Regions from separate parts of the Homo sapiens genome. Here all the other regions are linked to region 3. Evidence: promoter capture Hi-C in 16 types of primary human blood cells and fetal thymus (Javierre and others, 2016). All regions are on one chromosome and are shown on one strand. Each heading gives the region's core, a stretch centred on a gene start or on the middle of the fragment in contact. The rest is flanking DNA. Distances are from core to core; before and after follow the strand shown.

The links. Contacts are between HindIII fragments. The CHiCAGO score rates a contact against its expected background, and 5 or more counts as called.
Region 1: a contact is called between the fragment with the promoter of SUCLA2 here and the fragment with the promoter of HTR2A in region 3, in 1 of 17 cell types (megakaryocytes). The highest score is 7.1, in megakaryocytes.
Region 2: a contact is called between a fragment that was not itself captured here and the fragment with the promoter of HTR2A in region 3, in 1 of 17 cell types (fetal thymus). The highest score is 6.2, in fetal thymus.

The regions. Positions count from the first base shown.
Region 1 is chr13:47,999,113-48,003,473 of GRCh38, reverse strand. SUCLA2 (succinate-CoA ligase ADP-forming subunit beta) reads left to right here and starts at 2,201. Exons shown (of 11, transcript NM_003850.3): 1 at 2,201-2,294. The coding sequence starts at 2,205. SUCLA2-AS1 (SUCLA2 antisense RNA 1) reads right to left here and starts at 2,069. Exons shown (of 2, transcript NR_189308.1): 1 at 1,652-2,069; 2 at 783-1,039. RefSeq lists enhancers at 661-1,860, 2,237-2,426, 2,447-2,496, 2,517-2,566 and a silencer at 2,007-2,116. The HindIII fragment of the contact is 2,000 bases long and covers 2,030-4,029 here.
Region 2 is chr13:48,761,772-48,765,888 of GRCh38, reverse strand. No RefSeq gene overlaps it. Among named protein-coding and RNA genes, the nearest start is that of CYSLTR2, 110 kb to the right of the region's middle. The HindIII fragment of the contact is 413 bases long and covers 2,628-3,040 here.
Region 3 is chr13:46,894,620-46,899,108 of GRCh38, reverse strand. It overlaps HTR2A (5-hydroxytryptamine receptor 2A), which reads left to right and starts at 2,056. Exons shown (of 4, transcript NM_000621.5): 1 at 2,056-2,435; 2 at 2,875-3,614. The coding sequence starts at 3,203. The HindIII fragment of the contact is 5,377 bases long and covers 135-4,489 here.

The DNA of each region.
Region 1 (4,361 bases), core at 952-3,451, 1.1 Mb before region 3:
CTGGGCTCAAGTGATTTCCCCCCCATCTCAGTCTCTGGAGTAGCTGGGACCACAGGTGTACACCACCATGACTGGCTAATTTTAAAATTATTTATAGAAATGAAGTCTTGCTATGTGGCCCAACCAGTTTGGTCTCAAACTCCTGGGTTCAAGCAATCCTCCCACCTCGGCCTCCCAAAGTGTTTGGATTACAGGCATGAACCATTGTGCCCAGCTACTTTTTTTGTTTTGATCGAAATTATCATGTGATTTTTCTAACTTAATATAGTGCATTACACATATTTTCAAATATTAAAACAAACTTACATCTCTGGAATATATCCCACTTGGTCATATTGTACAATTCTTTTTATATATTTCTGAATTATATTTGCTAATATTTTGCTATGGATTTTTCCATCAATATTCATGAGAAGTGTTGGTATTTTTTTCTTTTTGTACGGTCTTTTGCTGGCTTTGGTAGTGGGGTGATTCTAACTTCATACAGTACATTGGCAACTGTTCCTTCCTCTTCTATCTTCTGGAAGAGGCTGTATGGAATTGGTGTTAATTCTTGTGTAAACATTTTATAGAATTCATCAGTGAAAGCTTTTGGGCCTGGAGATCTCAGGTTTTTTTTTTTTTTAGTTTAAAAATTACAATTACAATTTTCTCTAGTTAGAGGACTATTTAAATTACCTTTTCATATTAGGTTATTTGTAGTAATTTGTGCCTTCTGAAGAATTCGCTCATCTTGTCAAAGTTGTCAAATTTATGTTATGTGGTGTTATTTATGGCATTCCTTTTTGGTGTCTGAAGGTTCTGTAATTATATTCCCTGGTATGTTCCTCACATTGGTAATTTGTGTCTTCTCTTTTTCTTTTTTCTTTGCAGTCTTGCTGGAGGTTTGTTAAATTTATTTATCTTTTCAAAAACCAGATCCTTGGCTGGGTGTGGTTGCCCACACCTGTCATCCCAGCACTTTGGGAGACTGAGGCAGGAGGATCGCTTGAACCCACGAGTTGGAGACCAGCCTGGGCAACATAGAGAGATTCTGTCCCTAAAAAAATAAAATAAAAAAATCAACCAAGCCTGGTGACACACATCTGTGGTCCCAAACTACTCCAGAGGCTGAGGTGGGAGGATCCCTTGAGCATGGGAGGTTGAGGCTGCAGTGAGCTGTGATCGCGTCACTGCACTCCAGCCTGGGTGACAGACCAAGACCCTGTCAATCAGTCAATCAATCAATCAATAGCTTCCCTGGAGACTCCAGCCTGCCACCAGCTTTGGTAACTAGTGGCCGACTGTCAGGCCTCTGAGCCCAAGCCTGCACGTGTACATCCAGATGGCCTGAAGCAAGTGAAGAATCACAAAAGAAGGGAAATTGGCCGGTTCCTGCCTTAACTGATGACATTCCACCATTGTGATTTGTTCCTGCCCCACCTTAACTGAGTGATTAACCTTGTGAAATTCCTTCTCCTGGCTCAGAACCTCCCCCACTGAGCACCTTGTGACCCCCGCCCCTGCCCGTAAGAGAAAAACCCCCTTTGTAATTTTCCGCTACCCATCCAAATCCTATAAAACAGCCCCACCCCTATCTCCCTTTGCTGACTCTCTTTTCGGACTCAGCCCGCCTGCACCCAGTTAAAATAAACAGCCTTATTGCTCACACCCTGTTTGGCGGTGTCTTCACACGGATGCGCGTGACACCGATCTCTTTGAGCATCAGAAGCGCATGACACCGACCATCTTCTCTTTGAGCATCACAAGCGCGTTACACCGACCATCTTCTCTTTGAGCATCACAAATGGTTTTATTCATTGCTGTAGGCCAAGGGCTCAAGGCTGTTTAGCACGAAGTAGACACTGGGTAATCATTTCTTGAATGAAACACATTTTACAGATGAGGCAACTGAGGCTGAGAGAAGTTAAGATCACCCAAGTGGCGGCGCTGGTCACCTTTACATTGCAATTCACTAGGAAGTGTTCAGGTTGCTCTGACCGCAGGGCAGATATTGGGGCTGCGGTGCCCAGTTCCAAAGGTCAAAGCTTGCTCCGCGCCCGCCAGGGAGCTGGTCTAGCGGCTGCAGTGTTAACCCGAGGCCCCGCCCCCAACGGGTGGCGCGAGGCGGGGCGTAGGTGAGCGCTGCAGAGAGGCTGCGCCTTGGGCCGCCTGTCGCCTGTGCGCCTGCGCGCGGCGCCGAGGGGACGGGGTCCGACTCAGAAATGGCGGCCTCCATGTTCTACGGCAGGCTAGTGGCCGTGGCCACCCTTCGGAACCACCGGCCTCGGACGGCCCAGCGGGCTGCTGCTCAGGTAATGCCTTCCAGTCCGCTGTCGTCTCGAGGGTCGGCAGGAGAAAGGGTGAGGTGTGAGGGGTCCCGTGGCCCGGCTCGGGGTCACTTCGCCGGCAGTGACATTTTCTGGGTGCCCTGCAAGGCCCTCGGGCGACTTGCCTGGGAGTGCTGCTCGCCAGGACTACGAGCGAGCCCATGTTTGCGCGGCTCTGACCCAGCCCTTAGTCCGCGAGGATCCCCGGCGGCCCGGCCGTGGCTGCTCCTGCAGTTTCTAAGAGATGGGCGGGAGCAGGTGGGCTCTGAGTGGAGGTGAGGGGGTCAGGACATTTTCTGCTGCCATTCCGGCGTCTGGCACGGTGGGCTGAGACTTGCGCCGCCCCTTTTTGGGCAGGGGGGAATGCCCTTCAAAAGTACTTTTGTGTTTCTTGGGAGCTGTCATAGGTGGGAATGTCAGAGGACCAGCGGTGCTTACTGACTTGCCTTTTGTGGGGCAAGGTAGGGAAGTTTCCCCTCTCCTCCAAGTAGTTGTATACTGTTCTACTTGTTAATAGCAGTAATAAGATTATGTTTTCTACCTAACCAGTTGGAGAGGTAAGAAAATAATCTTTTGTATAGCCTTATTTCTGGATAGGCTATAGCATAATAGTTACTGGCCTTGTTTTGAATATTTGATGTGTGCCAGGTAATGTGCTAAGCGCTTTACGTGTAGTTTCTCAGGTTTTTCAGCAACTGTGAGGAAGTCATTCAACACCTGCATCATTGTTGAACATATTATGGTTAAGAGAACAAGTAATTTGGACTAGGTCATATAGGAGGTAAGATCAAAGCTGAGATTTAATCCCAGAGGTGTCTGGTTCTAAAGCCGTGTACTTGAGTTGGCTCCACAACTTCGAAAACAAACATCTTCCTTCCAACTTTGACAACAAAAAACTGTGGAAGGGCATTATTGGTGTCCTAAGTCAATTCCAGAGTTTTGGGTTTTTTTCTGAAGTAACTCTTCATACATGTCATAGTATGAATTGATTTAGGGCCCTCCCGCCCCTACCTTTTTTTTTTTTTTTCATTTTTATTGAAGTTGTTCATACTTTCAGCCTAGGGGTAGTGAGTTCTGTGAGTTTGCTTCCCGATAGAAGTGACTTTTTGACCTTGAACTTCCTTCTTATGAATCTTAGAAGAGTGCTATTTAGTTTTTAGAAAATGGGGAATTTAGTGACAAATACGTTTTCATTCTAGTCAAAATCTTTATCTTTTTGGAAGTTCATTTAAAAGCCTTCATTTCTCCTTATGGAAATTTCCAATATTATTTTCTTTATAACAGTTGCTGTCTTCTACCCTGGTATTAAGAAATGCAGCTCTAGAGTTTGGAAGGACCTTAGTCCAACCCTTTGCTTTTGTAGATGAGGACATAGAAGTACGGAGTCTTAAGAAACTCGTTCAAGGTCACACATTTAATTTAGCAATTTGTTTTCCACATTTTTTTTTTTTTTTCCTTGAGACGGAGTCTTGCTCTGTCGCCCAGGCTGGAGTGCAGTGGCGCGATCTTGGCTCACTGCAAGCTCCGCCTCCCGGGTTCATGCCATTCTCCTGCCTCAGCCTCCCTAGTAGCTGGGACTGCAGGCGCCTGCCACCACGTCCGGCTAATTTTTTGTATTTTTAGTAAAGACGGGGTTTCACCGTGTTAGCCAGGACGGTCTCGATCTCCTGACCTCGTGATCCTCCCGCCTCGGCCTCCTAAAGTGCTGGGATTACAAGCTTGAGCCACCGCACCCGGCCTGTTTTAAACATTTGTTTAAGTTCTCTGACCCTCCTCCAATTTCTTGGTATCTTTAGCCTAGTGTACCTTCGTTGAAAATAGATATTTCAGCATATGTCTTTAAGAATAAGGACATTCTTCCAAATAACCGCAGTGATCATACTTAGGAATTCAACATTGCTGTAACATGAATATATATAGTTTAGATTCAGATTTTTCTAGTTGTCCCCAAAGTGTTCTTTATAGACATTAGATTTTTTAAAAATTTAAACTGGGATGAGACCTTGTGACATTTTCTCTGACCAACTAACCAATTAGGTGCCACCTAGTGAC
Region 2 (4,117 bases), core at 1,585-4,084, 1.9 Mb before region 3:
AAGGAGATAATAAGATTACAGTAGAGATAAATGAGATAGAGAATAGCAAAACAATAGAGAAACCAATGAAACTGAGTTTTTTTAAGATCAACAAAATTGACAAATGATTAGTTGACTAAGAGAAAAGACTCAAATAGATACAACTAGAAATGAAAGAGAAGGCATTACAACTGATATTGCAAAAGTTAAAAGGATTACAAAAGACTACTATGAACAATTACACCCAATAAGTTGTATAACCTAGCAGAAATGGATAAATTGCTAGACACAACCTACCAAGACTGAATCCTGAAGAAATAAAATATCTGGACAGGCTTATAACTAGCAAGGAGATTGAAGCACTAGTCAAAAACCTCCAAACCTCCAAACAAACAAACAAACCCAGGACTAGTGGCTTCACTGAAGAATTCTACCATACATTCTTTAAAACTTATCAATCCTTCTCAAACTCTTCTAAAGAATTGAAGAGGAGGTAACACTTCCAAACTCATTATATTAGGCTAATATTACTCTGACACCGTGGACAAAGATATTAAAAACAAGAAAAGAAAATTACAGACTAACATTCTTGATGAATATCAGTGCAAAAATCCTCAAAGAAATACCGGTAAACTGAATTCAACAGCACATTAAAAGGGTCATGCACCATGACTAAGTGGCACTTATACCTGGAATGCAAGGATGGTTCACCATATAAAAATCAATCAATGAAATATACCACATTAACAAATTGAAGGACAAAATCACATTATCATCTCAATCAATTCAGAAAAAGCATTTGACAAAATTCAATGCCCTTTTATGATAATAACACTGAACAAACTAGGAAGAGAAGAAAACTACCTTCAATATATATAATAAACAATATAATAAAATCCATATATGAAAAGCCCACAGCTAACATTATACTCCCATCCAAGTACTAACCAGGCCCGACCTTTCTTAGCTTCTGAGATCAGATGAGGTCAGGCATGTTCAGGGTGGTATGGCTGTAGACCATCATACTCAATAGGAAAAGACTGAAGGCTTTTCATCTAAGATAAAGAATAAGACAAGGATACCCACTCTCACCATTACTATTCAACATAATACTGGGAGTTCTAGTCAGAGCAATTAGACAAAAATTAAATTAAACTGAAGGCATACAAATTGGAAGGAAGAAGTCACATGATCTATTCACAGATGATATAATTTTATCTGTAGAAATCCCAAAAGATTCCACCAAAAAACTGCTAGGGCTAATAAACGATTTCAAGAAAGTGGCAGGATACAAAGCTGATGCACAAAAATCAGTTGCATTTCTAGATACATTTTTAAATAACTTAAATGAATTATGAAAACAATTCACTTATAATAGCACCAAATAGATGCTTCTTTCATGGGGCTGTCTTTCAACAGGTTAGATAGAGGAGTAGCACCCTGGGGAGGATAACAGAAATGTCAGAGTTCATAAAAGTTCAAGATCTTTTGCATGGCTTCTTTCTCTTGTGTGCTTATACCATTGCAGTTTCAGATTATAGTTGACTTCATAGAGAAAGAAGTTATATAAAAATCCATGTGATTCACAATTCTATCATTTTCCTTTAACCTGATTTTATTTGGAAATTTGGCCAAAGTATTTATTGCCTGAATTATTATTGTGTGTATTGAGAGCTCAGCATGCAGCCCAACCCTTTTCTATGATAGCAAGGGGAGGGTAGAAAGCTAAAACTGACATTTCCAGACTTCCTTGTAGTTAGGCTTCTGGATATGGGTTAGAGTCTGCCAATCAGATATGCTCATGGTAGAATGAGGTTTGAAACTGAACCAGGAAGAAGAGAGGGAGAAAAGGAGGAAGGAAGCATTCATTTTGCATTACAAATAAGGCTCAAATTCCCTTTGCCCACTCCCTGCAATCCTGGTCCATTTCCTACCCCAACAATGAAGGTAACCACTGCTATTAGATTGGTCTGTATCCTTCCATTCTCTTTCCATCAATTTTGCAAATATACATATATGCATATATGCTAATGTTTTAAGATGTGGATTTTGTGTAGTATTTTATTGTATCATACTACCATCTGCTACCTCTACAGCAACATTATGTCTTTGAGAACTTGACAGGTATGCATTATTCCATAGCATGGATACAGTATCACTTTTTAAAGTGATTTTCCTTTGGAAGGACATAAACCTAAAAATTGTTTCCAGTTTTCTGCTATCACAAACAATTTTGTACACATGTGCAAGAATTTTTCTTGAGCTAACACTAAGAAGTAGAATTTTTGAGTTGTAGGGTATGCACATTTAAATTTTCATAGATGCTGACAATGTATTTTAAAAGGGCTGTCACAGTTAACACCCCCACTATTTTTACTGTCTTTTGGTGTTAGTAGAGAAGCTTAAATTTTGGTGTCAGTCTAAGACTGCAAGAGTCATTTACAAGCAGTGGGACTAAGAGAAGTCATTTAACCTCCCTAAACCCCTGCTTCTTTATACTCAAAATGAGGATAAGTGTCTATGTCATGGAGTTCTTGCAGGGAATCGAGCTGAGGCCAGTAATACTTAGCACAGTCCCTGGCATATAGTAAGTGCTGATGAAAGGTGACTCCTACTCCTCCTCACCTTCCTTCTCTAAGATCTAAGCTTATCTATAAATGGGGCTATTCTATTATAATCTTTGCTAGGTTGAGATCACTTTGTTATTATTACTGTAGGATGTTTCTCCTTTTGAGAGGTACTGACACATCCTGGGCTGCATTTCTAAACTGGTCCTCTGAAAGAAACTTACCATGACATGGATTCCTATGTAATGAAACCACTTAATACTTTTAATTTAATGATGACACTGAATATGTGCATGGGCCATACTCAAATTTTTCCTGAAAGAACCACTTCCCTGTGCACTTAAGGATACTTACACTCTTCAAAAGTTTTGCATATGAGAGACTAAAATTAAGTTAATATCTTCAGAATGGCAATTTCCAAATGAAGTGATTTGTGCTCGTTAGCATGTTCTATTTAAGGCAAATGAATATATTGTTCTTTTTTACAGGAAGCTTTTAAGGTAACTCAGCTTACCGTGGAGTGGAGAGAGAATGTGATTGGGAGTCAAAGAGATCCAGGTTTGACTTTCAGCCCTGTCTCTTATTACCTAAGGGTCTTATTAAGATCCTTACTACTTCTGAGTCCCAATAATCATATTTATATTTATCTTGGAAGGTTGTTGAGAAGATTTAATGAGATAATATGTGCAAGTGCTGGACACATGGGGCATCCTTAAGAAATGCTGATTCCTGTCTATCCCCCCAGTGTTATTTACATAGGCTTCTGAATTCACCATCTATTGATTGAGTACAAGCTATGTGTCATCAGGAACTTCTATAGGCTGTGAGAGAGGGACAAATAAGAGAGACAGTCTCACCTTAAGGGGTTTTTAGTCTAGTGAGAAAGCTAGGCCATGGCTAAGTGACCTCAAGAGAACAATAAACACAATAACATTATGTCCAGGGCTCTCATCTCCCGATATGAGAAGTCAGAGGAACCTTCACAGAAGTATCTCTTGAGCTGGACCTTGAAGGATGAGGATGAGTTCACCAGGCAGGGAAGAAGAGCAGGTGGAAAAGCAAAGATAGAAAGAGCTGGGAGTGTTCTAACACTGGTGAGCATTAATCTTTCATCTCTAAAATATTTGGCCCGACATTCTTACAGTCTCTCCTGTGGCTGACATCTCCTGTGGTTCAAATGGACATTGGACTCACTAAAGAAGGGCACTGGACTCACTAAAGAAATCAAGAATTATTAATGTTCATTGCAGACTGGAACTTGGAACGCTGTAAATAACCCCAGCTCTACAAATCTGTCTGGAAAATGCTTAGTTCATGTTTGCTCTTTGTTACTTTTTCAAGGGAGTACTGAGGAAATCACAATTGTGGTTTCTGGCTGGAAATAGGTCCTATCTGTCACTATTGATCCTAAACAATTTGTCTCTCTGGAATCAGATTAAAATAGGTCCTATCTGTCACTATTGACCCTAAACGATTTGTCTCTCCGGAATCAGATTATTTAACCTCATTTCTAAAAGTTGTACTCAGGTGCTGGGTTAGGTGGATACTGCTAATAACAGCAGATGATCAAT
Region 3 (4,489 bases), core at 807-3,306:
CGCCCAGCTGTTAACAAGATAGACACAGTTCCTGCCTTTATGAGGCTTACATGAGACATGATGTGTTAAAAATAGAAGGCTGCAGAAGGTGCTATAGTCTTTGCCTCCACTGGGAAGGAGGGCTACAGAAAGCTTAGGAACAGTAAACTTAGTAAGAATAATAGCAACTAACCTTTATTGAGTGCTTAAAATGTGCCAGGCAAATATGTAAATTTATTTGGCTTTCACGTCAATCCTGAGGTCTTTTTATTATTAATGTTCCCTACTTGCGGATGAGGAGACTAAAACACAGAGATTAGGTAGCTTAATCACGCTTACAGATGTGGTGAGTGGTAGGCCTGGGATCCAGAGCTGCTCTGGAACTAAGCACGAATTTGCCAGATGGACACACACAAAAAAGGAATGGTAAGAGCACTCCGGGCACAGGGAAGTACAAGTACAGAGACATAAAAATGGTCAGAAACATGTAAGTTCAGTCTGCATACAGGCTGACTGGGAGAGTAACCAGAGTCCAGGCCTGCAAAGTGGGGCAAGCAGGGTACAGGTAGATGAAGAAAAGTGTTATGTGCCCCACAAGGAAGGGACTGCAGGAGTGTAGGCATGGGAGTGATGCCAATTGTGTCATTAATATCAGTAAGAATATCAATAGGAATGAAAGTGGCTGACATTACTTGAGAACCTCCTATAAGCCAGACATGGGCCAAATACTTACACACATTATCTCAGTTTAGCTTCACTACAATCTTATGAGGAAGGTATTATCCCATTTTACAAGTGAGAAGACTGAGCTTTAAAGGGAGCAACTAGATGAGGCGAGGTTCTACTGTTTATGAGTGATAGAGCTAGGATCCAAAACCAAGGAACTCTAAGGTCTGTGTTCTCCGCTGCCTGCTCGCCAGCGTGCATATTTAACGTGGAGGGGTAGGAGGGTGGCAGGCATGGCAGTGAGGGGGGCACTAAGGCACCCACCCAGGAAATAGGTGGCTAGATCTCGACCACAGGGTGCCAGCTGCAGGCTGCAGGAGAGGACATGTGAGAAACACGCATACAGAGGTAGCACCGGAGACGAAGTGGGATCTGGCAGCGAGAATGAAGGAAGAGTCGCGGATAACAGCAGCTGTCTGAAGAGGTGGTGATTCCATCATGCAAGCCAATGGGTAGGAACAAGCACTGAGAGCCGGGCAGGGGGATGCGGAGTGAGGGAAGATGCTGAGGTCAAGGTCTCCCAGGCTACCATGGAAGGAGCCAATGGGCAGCTAGAGATTTAGGTCTGGAACTGAGAGAAATAATCAGCTATGAAGGTACAGACTTGGCCACAAACATATTGAAGGCATGAGAGTGGTTGAATTTGTCCAGGGAGAATGTGAAGAACAGAAGGTGATAGAACTGTAGCAAAACCCAACTATTGAGGAAAATATTTTCATGCCTGCAAAAAGAGAGAGATCGAACTGCCTCCTTTAGAAACCTACTTGGGAAAGGGCTTTCTTTACAAGTAAGGCAAGTTGTCATTACTGGTGGGGGAAAAAAATTGGTACTGCGAAACCAACTTATTTCCTACCACATGTGAGGTTTTGAATAATATCTGGGTGGCATATTTCTGCTGAAGAAAATAAGCCAGTTCAATGGTGTATCTATTAAATAAAAATAGTGCTAATAGTTTATCAGAGTTATCACCACAGACGTGCCTAGCCACCCTGAGCCTATGTGGCCAATGTCAGTAATTCCACTCTGGACACAAACACTGTTGGCTTTGGATGGAAGTGCCGGACACTCACAGCACTCCGAGGACATACTGTTTTCTAGCCTTATTTATGTTCTCTCTTCACCCTTCAGCCTAAAAAATTACCACAGTGCCACTTACCTACCTTAATGGGAATCTGCACAAAAGGCCATTTCTCCAGTTTCTCTCAAAAGCAAAGGAAAACTTCCCAATATTAATATGTAGCAAAAAGAGGGAGAAGAAAAAGCCTGTTTGGTCCGCCCTCCTGGCTGTTGCTACCTTGCAGCTTATGACATACACATAGAGGGAGGTCTGATGAAATGAACGAGACAGTCAGAGAGCTACTCCATTCCCGTGGAAACCAGGAGTCCCTTGGTGCAGACAGCTCTTCCTACTTTCCCATGCAGTTCTTTTGTGCGACTTTGAGGGGCTCGTGAATGATTTCTAAATGTGTGCCTGCTGAGGCGAGCCGCACAGGGAGGGAGGAACCCAGCCGAGCCGTGCCAGAGGAAGCCAACAGGATCCTAGCAGTGCGGGAGCTGGCTCAGCTCTTGCATGCAGTTTTTGAAGTCAGCAAAACAGAAACCAAATTACTATCATATTATGCTGGTGGAAGATCAAGAAGAGGGGACTCTACACCAGTTTAATTACTGTGAGAGATGCAGCGAGTCACAGAATAACAAATGTATCTCATGTGTGGACCCTGAAGACAAATGTAAGTTCTCATGCCGCTATATTTTATTGCTGTGTAATTTTCTTTCCGGTTTGAAATCATGCTTGGCCAACATGTAATCATTTCAATGAGAATTTCCAGGGAGGAAAGTTGTCTGCTAATCTTTACTTAAGACTTTTTTGTTTTCCTTTTATTAGCTAAGCAACATTATAGGAGCTGAAATTCCTGACAGCAGCTGTGGCAATTCAGCTTAAGAATGGCTGAGAACTGTAACCCAAAGTACATCCAATTACTATGGGATTAACACTGGATGTATTTTTAATTGACTTTCTTAATGTAGAATGTGTACATCCCCACTGTTTCTGATTGCATGCTATTTTAATAATACTGTTGCTAAACTAGTACCATCGGCATAACCAACAAAATGAGATATAGTTAAACAAGAGTCCCAGTAGTTATAAAACTTTTCTTCTTTGTCCAGGACATTTATCTTCCCGAGCGCTCAAAAAAAACCCTGCAACCTCTATGCTAAAAGTTCATTCTGCTTTTTTGTCCTCGGTTTGGTGAGAAAATAATAAAACCAAACAGTGGACTCTCCTAAAATTGTGAATGAAGAAAACTTACAGCCACCACAGTTCAGTTCTTTAACTATCATTGTAATAATGGAAGACAAAAATCCAGCCCCGGGAGAACAGCATGTACACCAGCCTCAGTGTTACAGAGTGTGGGTACATCAAGGTGAATGGTGAGCAGAAACTATAACCTGTTAGTCCTTCTACACCTCATCTGCTACAAGTTCTGGCTTAGACATGGATATTCTTTGTGAAGAAAATACTTCTTTGAGCTCAACTACGAACTCCCTAATGCAATTAAATGATGACACCAGGCTCTACAGTAATGACTTTAACTCCGGAGAAGCTAACACTTCTGATGCATTTAACTGGACAGTCGACTCTGAAAATCGAACCAACCTTTCCTGTGAAGGGTGCCTCTCACCGTCGTGTCTCTCCTTACTTCATCTCCAGGAAAAAAACTGGTCTGCTTTACTGACAGCCGTAGTGATTATTCTAACTATTGCTGGAAACATACTCGTCATCATGGCAGTGTCCCTAGAGAAAAAGCTGCAGAATGCCACCAACTATTTCCTGATGTCACTTGCCATAGCTGATATGCTGCTGGGTTTCCTTGTCATGCCCGTGTCCATGTTAACCATCCTGTATGGTGAGTGGCATTAGTTTCCCAGCTATATTCGCACTGGTAATAAAGAGCATGTGCATGCCACCAGCAGATGAGATGGGGCTCAGGGGGCAAACAAACTATAAATAGAAGTCTTTGTTTATAGACTAGAGCCTACTATGTTACTTATATTTTACTCTTAAAATGGGATTTCACATAAAAATCAGACAGTCTATGACCTGTGATCACTGGAGAGTTTTGTGCTTCAAAACGCGTACATCCTGTGTAAAAATGATCATTGGAGAGTTTTGTGCTTCAAAACATGTACATTTAATGTAGAAATTTTTATAAATTACCCCATACAGTCATAAACCAATAACTTACCCATCATTCTGAATCTACTTGATTTTTGCTTCTTTATATTCCCAACCAATATTCCAGCCTTCAGGACAGAACAGTTTTAATCTTTGTCACACAGTTTTCAGCACTTTTAATGGAGTGATAAAGCCTTCCCAATTACTTTGGAACATTTGCAGAGAGAACATTAGTGGTGCAATAGGTTTTATGTTAAAATATGCAGAACCTCAATTAGAATAAATGAATTACTCCAGTTTTAATTGTTCCCTGCCCAGAGAAGCTAATTTGGAAATGTGCCTTTGAATTATATCCTCAACTCTTTGAAAATGCATATGCATAAACTCCTCCAGTCTGGTTTGGAGGAGGGTGGGAAACAAATGGGAAGGGATTAATCTTGCTTTCTTCTCAACAGAGTTTGAAACAGTCAGACCTCTCAGCAAGGGACCAGAATGTGATATTCTTTCCAAATTATGAGTAATACAGCCAGATACCTCCTTAAAGGAGAGACTATTGTGACTGCTGACACAGGCACAAGCAGCAGTCACTCAGAGCTTAGAGACAGG